2 separate regions of the Homo sapiens genome follow, and region 2 is linked to region 1. Evidence: promoter capture Hi-C in 16 types of primary human blood cells and fetal thymus (Javierre and others, 2016). All regions are on one chromosome and are shown on one strand. Each heading gives the region's core, a stretch centred on a gene start or on the middle of the fragment in contact. The rest is flanking DNA. Distances are from core to core; before and after follow the strand shown. Region 1 holds the start of CNBP (CCHC-type zinc finger nucleic acid binding protein). Region 2 overlaps RPN1 (ribophorin I).

Region 1 (4,690 bases), core at 1,142-3,641:
GCTGGGTGTGGCGGCGGGCGCCTGTAATCCCAGCTACTTCGGAGGCTGAGGCAGGAGAATCGCTTAATCCGGGAGGCGGAGGTCGCAGTGAGCCGAGATCGCGCCACTGCACTCCAGCTTGGGCGACAGAGTGAGACTCCGTCTCAGAAAAAAAAAAAGAAAAACCCCTGGTCTTCCACTGATTTGGTTCAAAATATTTTACAGACTGCACCATCTGAAATACATTACCTCTCCTGTTACCAATATGAAAAAAAAGAGGACCTTTGGTTCCTCAGAAAAACACAAACTGTTATTTTTTTAAAGAAAAACTTATCAAGAGATGAAATCGGAAAAACTTAAGTCTTTAATTCTGCCCTTGGGAATGTAATAAATTATTCCTTTTATATTCCAATACACAAAGAACTCTTGTAGACAAGAATCAGGCTCAACAAACTAAAAACAGCATGTACCTAGGATCCTGGCAGTTTACAGGTGTTTGATTATCCTTAACCAGAGTAACTCATTAGAAGCATTTAAAACTATTTAGGAGGGGGGAGGGGGAAGCCCAGGAGATAAGTACTATATCTCTTATCTTTTTGAAACCCTCAAAGCTCTACACTCCAGTTATACTGCTTGAACAAACAAATAACATAAAATTGCTAATTTAAATTCGAATGGAAATAGTAACTGGTTACGTTTCACTCCAAAATTGGGTCAAACAATAGGAAAGGGGGAAAAATCTACTTTTAAAAATGTAATTTAAAAGCAAGATGGGGATATTCATTAGACCTCCTTCACTTTGAGAAAGACAAAAAACAAATTCAGTTTTGGCTTATCTCACCTGAGTCCTTCTGAATAATGCCTGAAACACACTAGCTAAAATCACAGACGATTACTGAGCAATGTTCTCTTTTTACAAGACCCCCAAGACCAGAAACAGTCACTTCCTTTGGAAGTGCCCTGTGGCTGAGGCCATATGGTTAACATGTGGGAACAAGCACAAGCCTTACCCATAATAAAATCAACACCTAAACCCAAATGTGGACCATTATGCCATTCTAAAACAGGTTCTCACGATATGGAAAAATCTAGATGGAGGGGAGCTAGTTGAATTTCGTGTCTCGTTTGTAATTACATCTGTTTCATTAATCCAAGAAATGATGCAGACTACCGCCCGCTGCTGTGGTTTTGGAGGTTTGACAAATTCGTGTTTTTTCTGGTAATGGCGCTTTTAAAGGATCCCAGCAACTTAAATAGTGTTAACTCTTGGAATGTGAGCCCCATCAGCCCCTTTTGGAATGGTAATGTAACACAAGCAACTTAGTATTTAAATGACGATAAAAATTCAAGAATCGGAAAACTATCAAGGATAGGGAGTATAAACTCTAAAAGCTCCCAAGTCTTCCAGCAGTCTCGCCACTCCAAACACAAAGGCTTCTTCAGGAACCCTTTGTTGTTGTTTGTTTGTTTGTTTGTTTGTTTTTTTAAGACGGAGTCTCTCTCTGTTGCCCATGCTGGAGTGTAGTGGCGCGATCTCGGCTCACCACAACCTCGGCCTCCGGGGTTCACGCGATTCTCCTGTCCAGCCTCCCGAGCTGCTGGGACTACATGCGCCCGCCACCATGCCCGGCTAATTTTTTATTTTTAGTACAGACCAACTTTCACCATATTGGTCAGGCTGGTCTCGAACTCCTGACCTCGTGATCCGCCCGCCTGGGACTCTCAAAGTGCTGGGATTACAGGCGTGAGCCACCGCGCCCGGCCTAAGAACCCTTTTCTAAGGCCCCCAAAACCCTTGGCACATGGCCCGCCAGGCGCACGACCCCAGCACATGGCCTGCACGACTATACCCACCCCATCCCCCCTTCATCCGCAGCCGGGAGCCTTTCCCCACCACACGGACTCCTTCCAGTGAGTTCCCGCCAAATCCACCCTCGGTCCCTCATTCCGCGACCCTCGAAGCGTCAGGGCCTCGGCCCCAAGGGCGCACGGGCGGGCCTCCTCTGCCCTAAGCCTGCGGCCTGGGGTGCGGCCGTGGCGCCGAAAGACCCGCATGCTCGGCGACCCAGCTTTCCAGGACGAAGAAAGGACAGAAGTGTCGTCCGACAGCGGTGCGCCAGAAACCCGGGTCCGAGGCGGCGGCAGCAGCCGAGCTTCCCGCCTGACGCAGCAGAGGCGCAGGCCAAAGTGCGGCCGCCATCGCCACCTCGCCGCTCCCTACCCTCTCTGTCCGCCACAGACCCGACCCGCACTGCGGCTCCGTCAGCGCCGGGCCCCTCCCCCAGCCCTCACCTTCCGCGTCGGAGCGGGCCCGCAGCGGCGGAGACTCGGACGCAGGCCTGGGGAAGACGGCTCGCAAGGTAGAGGCTGTTTATTTTGAGGGTCCTTGCCTGCGCCACACGCGGGTCTGCACACGGCCCCACATACGCCGCTGCGCACGGCTCTCCTCCGCCTCGCCCACGCGGCCAATCAGCGCGCGGGGTTCGGCAGTCCAATCAGAGCCGCCCGCGGCAGGGCCGCCCACTAGAGCGCGGCGCGGGGCGGGTGTTTCTGCGCGCAGCGTCTTTTCCCGCCGTGCCCCGCGCGCGGCCTTTCACGCCGGGATCCGGGTCCCGGTGCTTCTCGGTTCATTCCCAGCTGGGTCCGGGCCCGGCCAGACTGGGTGGAAATCTGGCTGACCTTGGTGGTCTGTCTTGGCCAGCTGGAGCAAAGGGATGCCAGGGGACGGGTCTCGGTGCAGTGACTGCCATTAGCTTGGGGCCGCAGAAAGTTTCTCCCCTTTCTCGGGCTCCTGCCAGGCCCTTGGCTTTCAGAGCCAGGCCCGATTTCTAGATAACATTTAAGTTTGCAGAAAAGGGGATGCCAAGTCACGGTGGTCACGGCTGTGGGATGCAGCCTCTGAGATTTGTATTAATTTTTGTGAGCCGGGGAAAGGCCTTGCTGCTTTCTCCGCCAGGACTGATGTGTCTTCCCAAGATGAAAGTGCCTGGTAAGGGCGAGGGGCCTCCCTGGGAAGGTCATGAGCATGTAAGGTAATGGGGCCTAGACTGTGACTTTTGGCACGTTTATGAGTGACATCCCCCGGGAGGGCAAGGATAACCATTTGACCTGGTCTGTCATATTCAGGAATAGACTTCAGTTTAGTTGTGGTATTTTCTCCAAAAGAGATTTGTGTATATAGCCCTAGATAGTCTTGTCAAGATTAAACCCAATTTAAACTGTTAACTATAAAATATTTTAGAATTTTGTCTCATTCTAGAATGGCTTTATTCGAAACAAAAAAAAAGGAAGAGTCCCAAGTTTCGTCTCAGTGAAACCTGCCAGTTCAACACTATGATTTATTTTTCTTTTTTTCTTTAATTTTTTTTTTTTTTAAGAGTAGGGTCTTGCTCTGTCGCTGGGTTTACAGGCATAAGCCACCAATCCCAAATCCCGGGGCTATGATTTTTGAAATCATGTTCGTGAGAAGGCAGAGCACATGTGTTGAGAGTCAGACTTTAAACCTGGGTTCAAATCATTAGTGCTTAATCATTGTAAAGCAGTTAGGAGGTTGCGTTCAACATAGCAATTATCAAAGAATGAATGTATAACTTTAAAGACCAATGATATTTTAAACTTTTTTTTTTTTTTGAGAACGGAGTCTCACTCCGTTGCCCAGGCTGGAGTGCAATGGCACGATCTCAGCTCACTGCAACCTCCGCCTCCTGGATTCAAGTGATTCTCCTGCCTCAGCCTCCCCAGTAGCTGGGATTATAGGCATGCGCCACCACGCCCGGCTAATTTTGTATTTTTAGTATAGGCGGGGTTTCTCCATGTTGGTCAGGCTGGTCTCAAACTCCCGACCTCAGGTGATCCGCCCACCCAAAGTGGTGATCGTCCTCCCAAAGCACTGGGATTACAGGCATGAGCCACCGCGCCTGGCCGAACTTTTTAAATTTATTTATTACTATTTTTTGAGACAGGGTCTCCCTCTGTTGCCCAGGCTGGAGTGCTGTCTCAGCTCACTGCAACCTCCGCTTCCCATGTTTGACCAATTCTGCCTCAGCCTCCTGAGTAGCTGGGACTGCAGGCGCCCACCACCACGCCTGGCTAATTTTTGTATTTTTAGTAGAGATGGGGTTTCATCATGTTGGCCAGGCTGGTCTTGAACTCCTGGCCTCAAGCGGTGCTAGGCCAAAGTGCTAGGATTACAGGTGTGAGCCACTGCACCCAGTGCCCCCAAAGTGCTAGGATTACAGGTGTGAGCCACTGCACTCAGCCTTAAACATTTTTTTAATTAAAGCAACCTAAGGTAAAATTTTTTAACCAAATTTAACCCATTCCCAATCAGATTGAATAAATGCCTAGCAGCTTATGTGTTGTGCTAAAACACGATATATTATCTGCCAATAAAAAACAGTATTTTGTATTTATATAGTTTTATTACCAAGAAGCTTACTCAGCTTTATGATTTCCCCTTTGTAATCTGATTAACCTTCATAGTATCTTGAAGTAATGTATAGTGTAGCAATCAGACACTTAGGTAGTGACTTCGTGAGCTCTGACAATGAGTCAATATAATGCAAGAGGCTATGTATGAAGTCCAACCTGGGTGCGTCCACACCACACCAAGAGGACAAGTTAAAATTACCATATGGCCAAAAATTAATATTTTCTGACTTATTTTTGTTTACCATTCCAACCATAGTACTGTATAAAATGTTTGCTATTC
Region 2 (4,690 bases), core at 1,510-4,009, 540 kb before region 1:
CTACTCAGGAGGCTGAGGTAGGAGAATTGCTTGAACCCAGGAGGCAGAGGTTGCGGTTAGCTGAGATCGCCCCACTGCACTCCAGTCTGAATGACAGATCAAGACTCCTTCTCAAAAAAAATAAAATAAAATAAAGACAAAAAAAAAAAAAGAAACAATTATTTCAAGTAGCATTAGAACAAAGTATTTTGATTGCACATCCTTGGTGACACATGTTCTAAACACACAGAGAGATGCAAAGACATCTTTTTTTTAGAGTGGGGTGGTGCAATCATAGCTAACTGCAGCATTAACCTCCTGGGCTCAAGTAATCCTCCCACCTCAGCCTCCCAAGTAGCTGAGACTACAGGAGTGTGTCACCATGCCCAGCTTATTATTTTTTGTAAAAATGAGGTCTCACTATGTTGCCCAGACTGGTCTTGAATTCCTGGGCACAAATAATCCTCCCATATTGGCCTCCCAAAGTGCTAGGATTATAGGCATGAGCCACTGCACCCAGTGCAAAGAAATCTTAAACGTCTAAAATACCCATATTTTTTAGAGATGGTATAGAAGTAGGTAAAAAGACATGACTGCTGAGATTTGCTTTAAAATCCTCTAGCAAAAAGGCCAGGGACCATGGCTCATGCCTGTAATCCCAGCACTTTGGGAGACAAAGGCAGGAAGATCACCTGGGCCCAGGAGTTTGAGACTAGCCTGGGCAATAAAGCAAGATCCCGTCTCTACAACAAAAATAAAAAATTAACTGGGCATGGTGACGCACACCTGTCACTCCAGCTACATGGGAGGCTGAGCTGGGAGGATGGACTGAGCCCAGGAGTTTGAGGTTACAGTGAGCTATGATTATGCCACTGTACTCCAGGCTGGGCAACAGAGCAGGATCCTGTCTCTTAAAAAAAAAAATTTTTTTAAGTACTCCACCAAAGAAAAAAAGAGGTAGGTTAATTATGGTAACCTGATAACCGCTGAATCTAAGTGACGTGTGTGGGAGTTTATACTAGTCTTTGTACTTTGGCATGTTTGCGATTTGCCATAGTAACAAAATCTTTGTAAGCCTTAATTGCTCCCTCTCTCTTCAAGTTCCAACCAAGGCCCAACATTCAAGGAAGGCCCTCAACCACTCCAACAGCTTTGCTACCCCAGTATCTGCCCAGCCACACCATCTCAAAGCCTTTGTCCCTCTTACTGCCTCTGCGTGGAATGCCTTGCTTCCATCTCCAACACCCATTCCACCTCTCCAAATGCTACCCCTAGCCTCTACCTGTGATCCCCCAAGGAGAAACAAGACCCCCATGGAGTCATTTCACTGCAGGTTAAACACTTTTGGGATGACCTTAGAAATGACTGCAGATTTCATCCACCCCACACCACCCAAGCCTATCAACCAGTAGTCACTCTGCAAGACATTCTCTGAAGCAGACAGGGATGGGCTGGACTCCACCTGAGCTTACCTGACTATAGGCAGGCACATCTCTGAAAGGCCCATAATCCAGTAGGTCCTCAGAGCGCGTGGGGTTCCCCAGCTTGGTGTAGCTCTCCACATTTCGAGAGGCAAGCTTCACACGCATGGTTTGTGTCTTCGTTGGATAGGGAGAGTAGAAATAATGGTTCCCCTCAAACACCACAAACTGTTTCTCTGACTGGGTGATCTGGGTTGGATACGGATGAAGCACATGGGTGTAGACTGTTTCCACAATGACTGAAATCTTGGCCCCAGGATCAAGAGCAACTGGGAGCTTGACTGTGAAGAATCTCCCACTAAAGGAAGAACAAGGCAAGAGAAGTAAGAGAGACTGAGGATACTGAAAACAGTAGTAGCAGTTCAAAGTCACAACAAAATTTTGAACCAAAGACAAAAGCAATTATCTTTAAGAGATCACCTTTTCCTTTTTGAGATGGAGTCTCACTCTATCACTCAGGCTGGAGTGCAATGGTGCGATCTCGGCTCACCACAACCTCCACCTCTTGGGTTCAAGCGATTCTCCTGCCTCAACCTCCCGAATAGCTGGGATTACCTATTAGAATGTTTTTAACTTTTGTTCCATTGTTGAACATTTACACTGTTTTACACTCTTGCTATTTATAAACAGCCCTGAGAGAAACAGCTACATATCTGTCTTAGAAGACTTAAATTATTTTTTTCTTTTTTTGAGACAGAGTGTTGCTCTGTCGCCCAGGCTGGAGTGCAGTGGCATGATCTCAGCTCACTGCAACTTCCACCTCCCAGGTTCAAGAGATTCTATTGCCTCAGCCTCCCGAGTAGCTGGGACTACTGGCACCTGCCACCATGTCCTGTTAATAAAAGACTTAAATTACTATATTAAAGGTGATCTCTTGGCTGGGTGCAGTGGCTCATGCCTGTAATCCCAGCACTTTGGGAGGCCAAGTCAGGTGAATTTCCTGAGGTCAGGAGTTCCAGACCAGCCTGGCCAACATGGCAAAACCCTGTCTCTATTAAAAATACAAAAATTAGCTGGGCGTGGTGGTGCACACCTGTAGTCCCAGCTACTTGAGAGGTTGAAGTGGGAGGATCACTTGAACCCGGGAGGCGGAGGTTGCAGTGAGCCAAGATAGCGCCACTACACTCCAGCCTGGGTGACAGAGAGAGACTCCATCTCAAAAAAAAAAATTTTAATAGAACCACACAACAGAATACTGACAGTCGTTAGAAATATGGCTTCACACAATAGAATATTGGCAGTCATTAGAAATATGGCTAACCTACATATCTATATTAACATGGAAAGATGTCCATGTACAATGTAAATAACGAAAATCTGTTTACAAATGACAAAGAATAACTCCATTTAAAAACATACATAGACCCGGGGAGGGTGGCTTACGCCTGTAATCCCAGCACTTTGGGAGACCGAGATGGGTGGATCACGAGGTCAGGAGATCAAGACCAACCTGGCTAACACAGTGAAAGCCCATCTCTACTAAAAATACAAAAAAAAATAGCCGGGCGTTGTGGCGGGCACCTGTAGTCCCAGCTACTCAGGAGGCTGGGGCAGGAGAATGATGTGAACCCGGAAGGCGGAGCTTGCAGTGCGCCGAGATCGTGCCACTGCACTCCAGCCGGGCGACAGAGCGAGATACCGTCTCAAGAAAAAAAAAAAAAAAAAAATGAATGAATGTAAAGAATAGTATTTCAAGGAATGTTCAACAAAATGTTAATGGTAACTGTCTCAAGGTTGTAGAATAAGTTTAGTTTGTCTTTTCCAATTTCATTTTATTTTTTATTATTATTATTTTTTGAGACGGAGTCTTACTCTTGTAGCCCAGGCTGGAGTGAAATGGCACAATCTTGGCTCACCGCAACCTCCGCCTGCTGGGTTCAAGTGATTCTCCTACCTGAGCCTCCCCAGTAGCTGGGATTACAGGCGTCCGCCACCACGCCCAGCTAATTTTTGTGTTTTTAGTACAGAGGGGATTTCGCCACGTTGGCCAGGATGGTCTGAACTCCTGACCTCAGGTGATACACCCGCCTCGGGCTCCCAAAGTGCTGGGATTACAGGCATGAGCCACTGCGCCAGGCCCTAATTTGTCTTATAAGGAGCTTGTATCATCCTCATATCAAGAAAAAAATAAAGCTACTAATATTTTAAAGAAAAACAGATGGCTGACCAGCCTTACCAACAAGGTGAAACCCTGTCTCTACTAAAAGTACAAAAATTAGCCGGGCGTGGTGGCAGGCGCCTGTAGTCCCAGATACTCGGGAGGCTGAGACAGGAGAATTGCTTGAACCTGGGAGGCGGAGGTTGCAGTGAGCCGAGATTGTGCCACTGCACTCCAGCCTGGGTGACGGAGCGAGAATCCATCTCAAAAAAGGAAAAAAAAGAAAAACAGATGGCCTGGAAACTTAAAATTCACAGGGTACTAATTCTAAACTGAATCAGTTTTCCAAGCCAGGAGAACAATTTTTAGAAGACGTAGAAACCACTAGTGAAAAATTGAATTAATAAGCTTCAATGAGTTTGTCCTCAAAGGTGAGAACATGGATCACTCTTCCTGATATGACTTTATAGAACACAAAACTTGCATGTCTTTATCAGTCACACCATTATATTTCATATTACAACTGTGACGTTCACTACTCAAAATATAAGTAGCGGAATCTTCTCCTCAGGACAGTCTTAACCAATTCTTAGTTTCAAGTCCCAAATGTGCTTCTCATCCCACTCTCTGTCCTGAATTCTAAAATCAAATTTTCAAATGTTTACTAGACAGCTCCACTGACCACCCCACATGCAATTCAACAAAACCTTATCATTCATGATCCCAAGTCTTGATCTCTCTTAATACCACTGCCATCTGATCAACTCTAAGCTAGAAACCCAGGCATCTTCTGATGCCTCACTCTGCCCTGTCCCCAATACCTGGGCAATCCTGCCTCAGAAATTCCTCTCAGACCCATCCCTTCCTTTGCCTCCTCCTCCATTCAAACCAATACCATGTGCCTAGACTACTGCATCTCTTCCTATTAATCTCCTAATCTCCCTTCCCCCCAGCCCATCTACACAATCTCAAATCAACATTCCCACATTCATTTTACAAGTTGTTAAATGCTGCCACATAATTTAATTTTGCTTTGATAATTCAGAAGACAAATCAGAACCTTTCAGCACTCCAAGATCATTAGGAACATCAAGTCTTACCAAAATGTGGAAGCACCAGCTAATGAAGGTTT

Evidence for each region. The method cuts DNA at HindIII sites, captures the fragments that hold promoters and counts their contacts. A CHiCAGO score of 5 or more calls a contact.
Region 2: a contact is called between a fragment that was not itself captured here and the fragment with the promoter of CNBP in region 1, in 1 of 17 cell types (naive CD8 T cells). The highest score is 5.0, in naive CD8 T cells.

The regions. Positions count from the first base shown.
Region 1 is chr3:129,181,505-129,186,194 of GRCh38, forward strand. CNBP (CCHC-type zinc finger nucleic acid binding protein) reads right to left here and starts at 2,392. Exons shown (of 5, transcript NM_003418.5): 1 at 2,272-2,392. LOC105374101 (a long non-coding RNA gene) reads left to right here and starts at 2,570. Exons shown (of 2, transcript XR_924469.3): 1 at 2,570-2,968. RefSeq lists an enhancer at 2,726-2,815. The HindIII fragment of the contact is 13,108 bases long and covers 1-4,410 here.
Region 2 is chr3:128,636,348-128,641,037 of GRCh38, forward strand. RPN1 (ribophorin I) reads right to left here. Exons shown (of 10, transcript NM_002950.4): 3 at 1,452-1,758. Among named protein-coding and RNA genes, the nearest start is that of RPN1, 12 kb to the right of the region's middle. The HindIII fragment of the contact is 2,410 bases long and covers 1,555-3,964 here.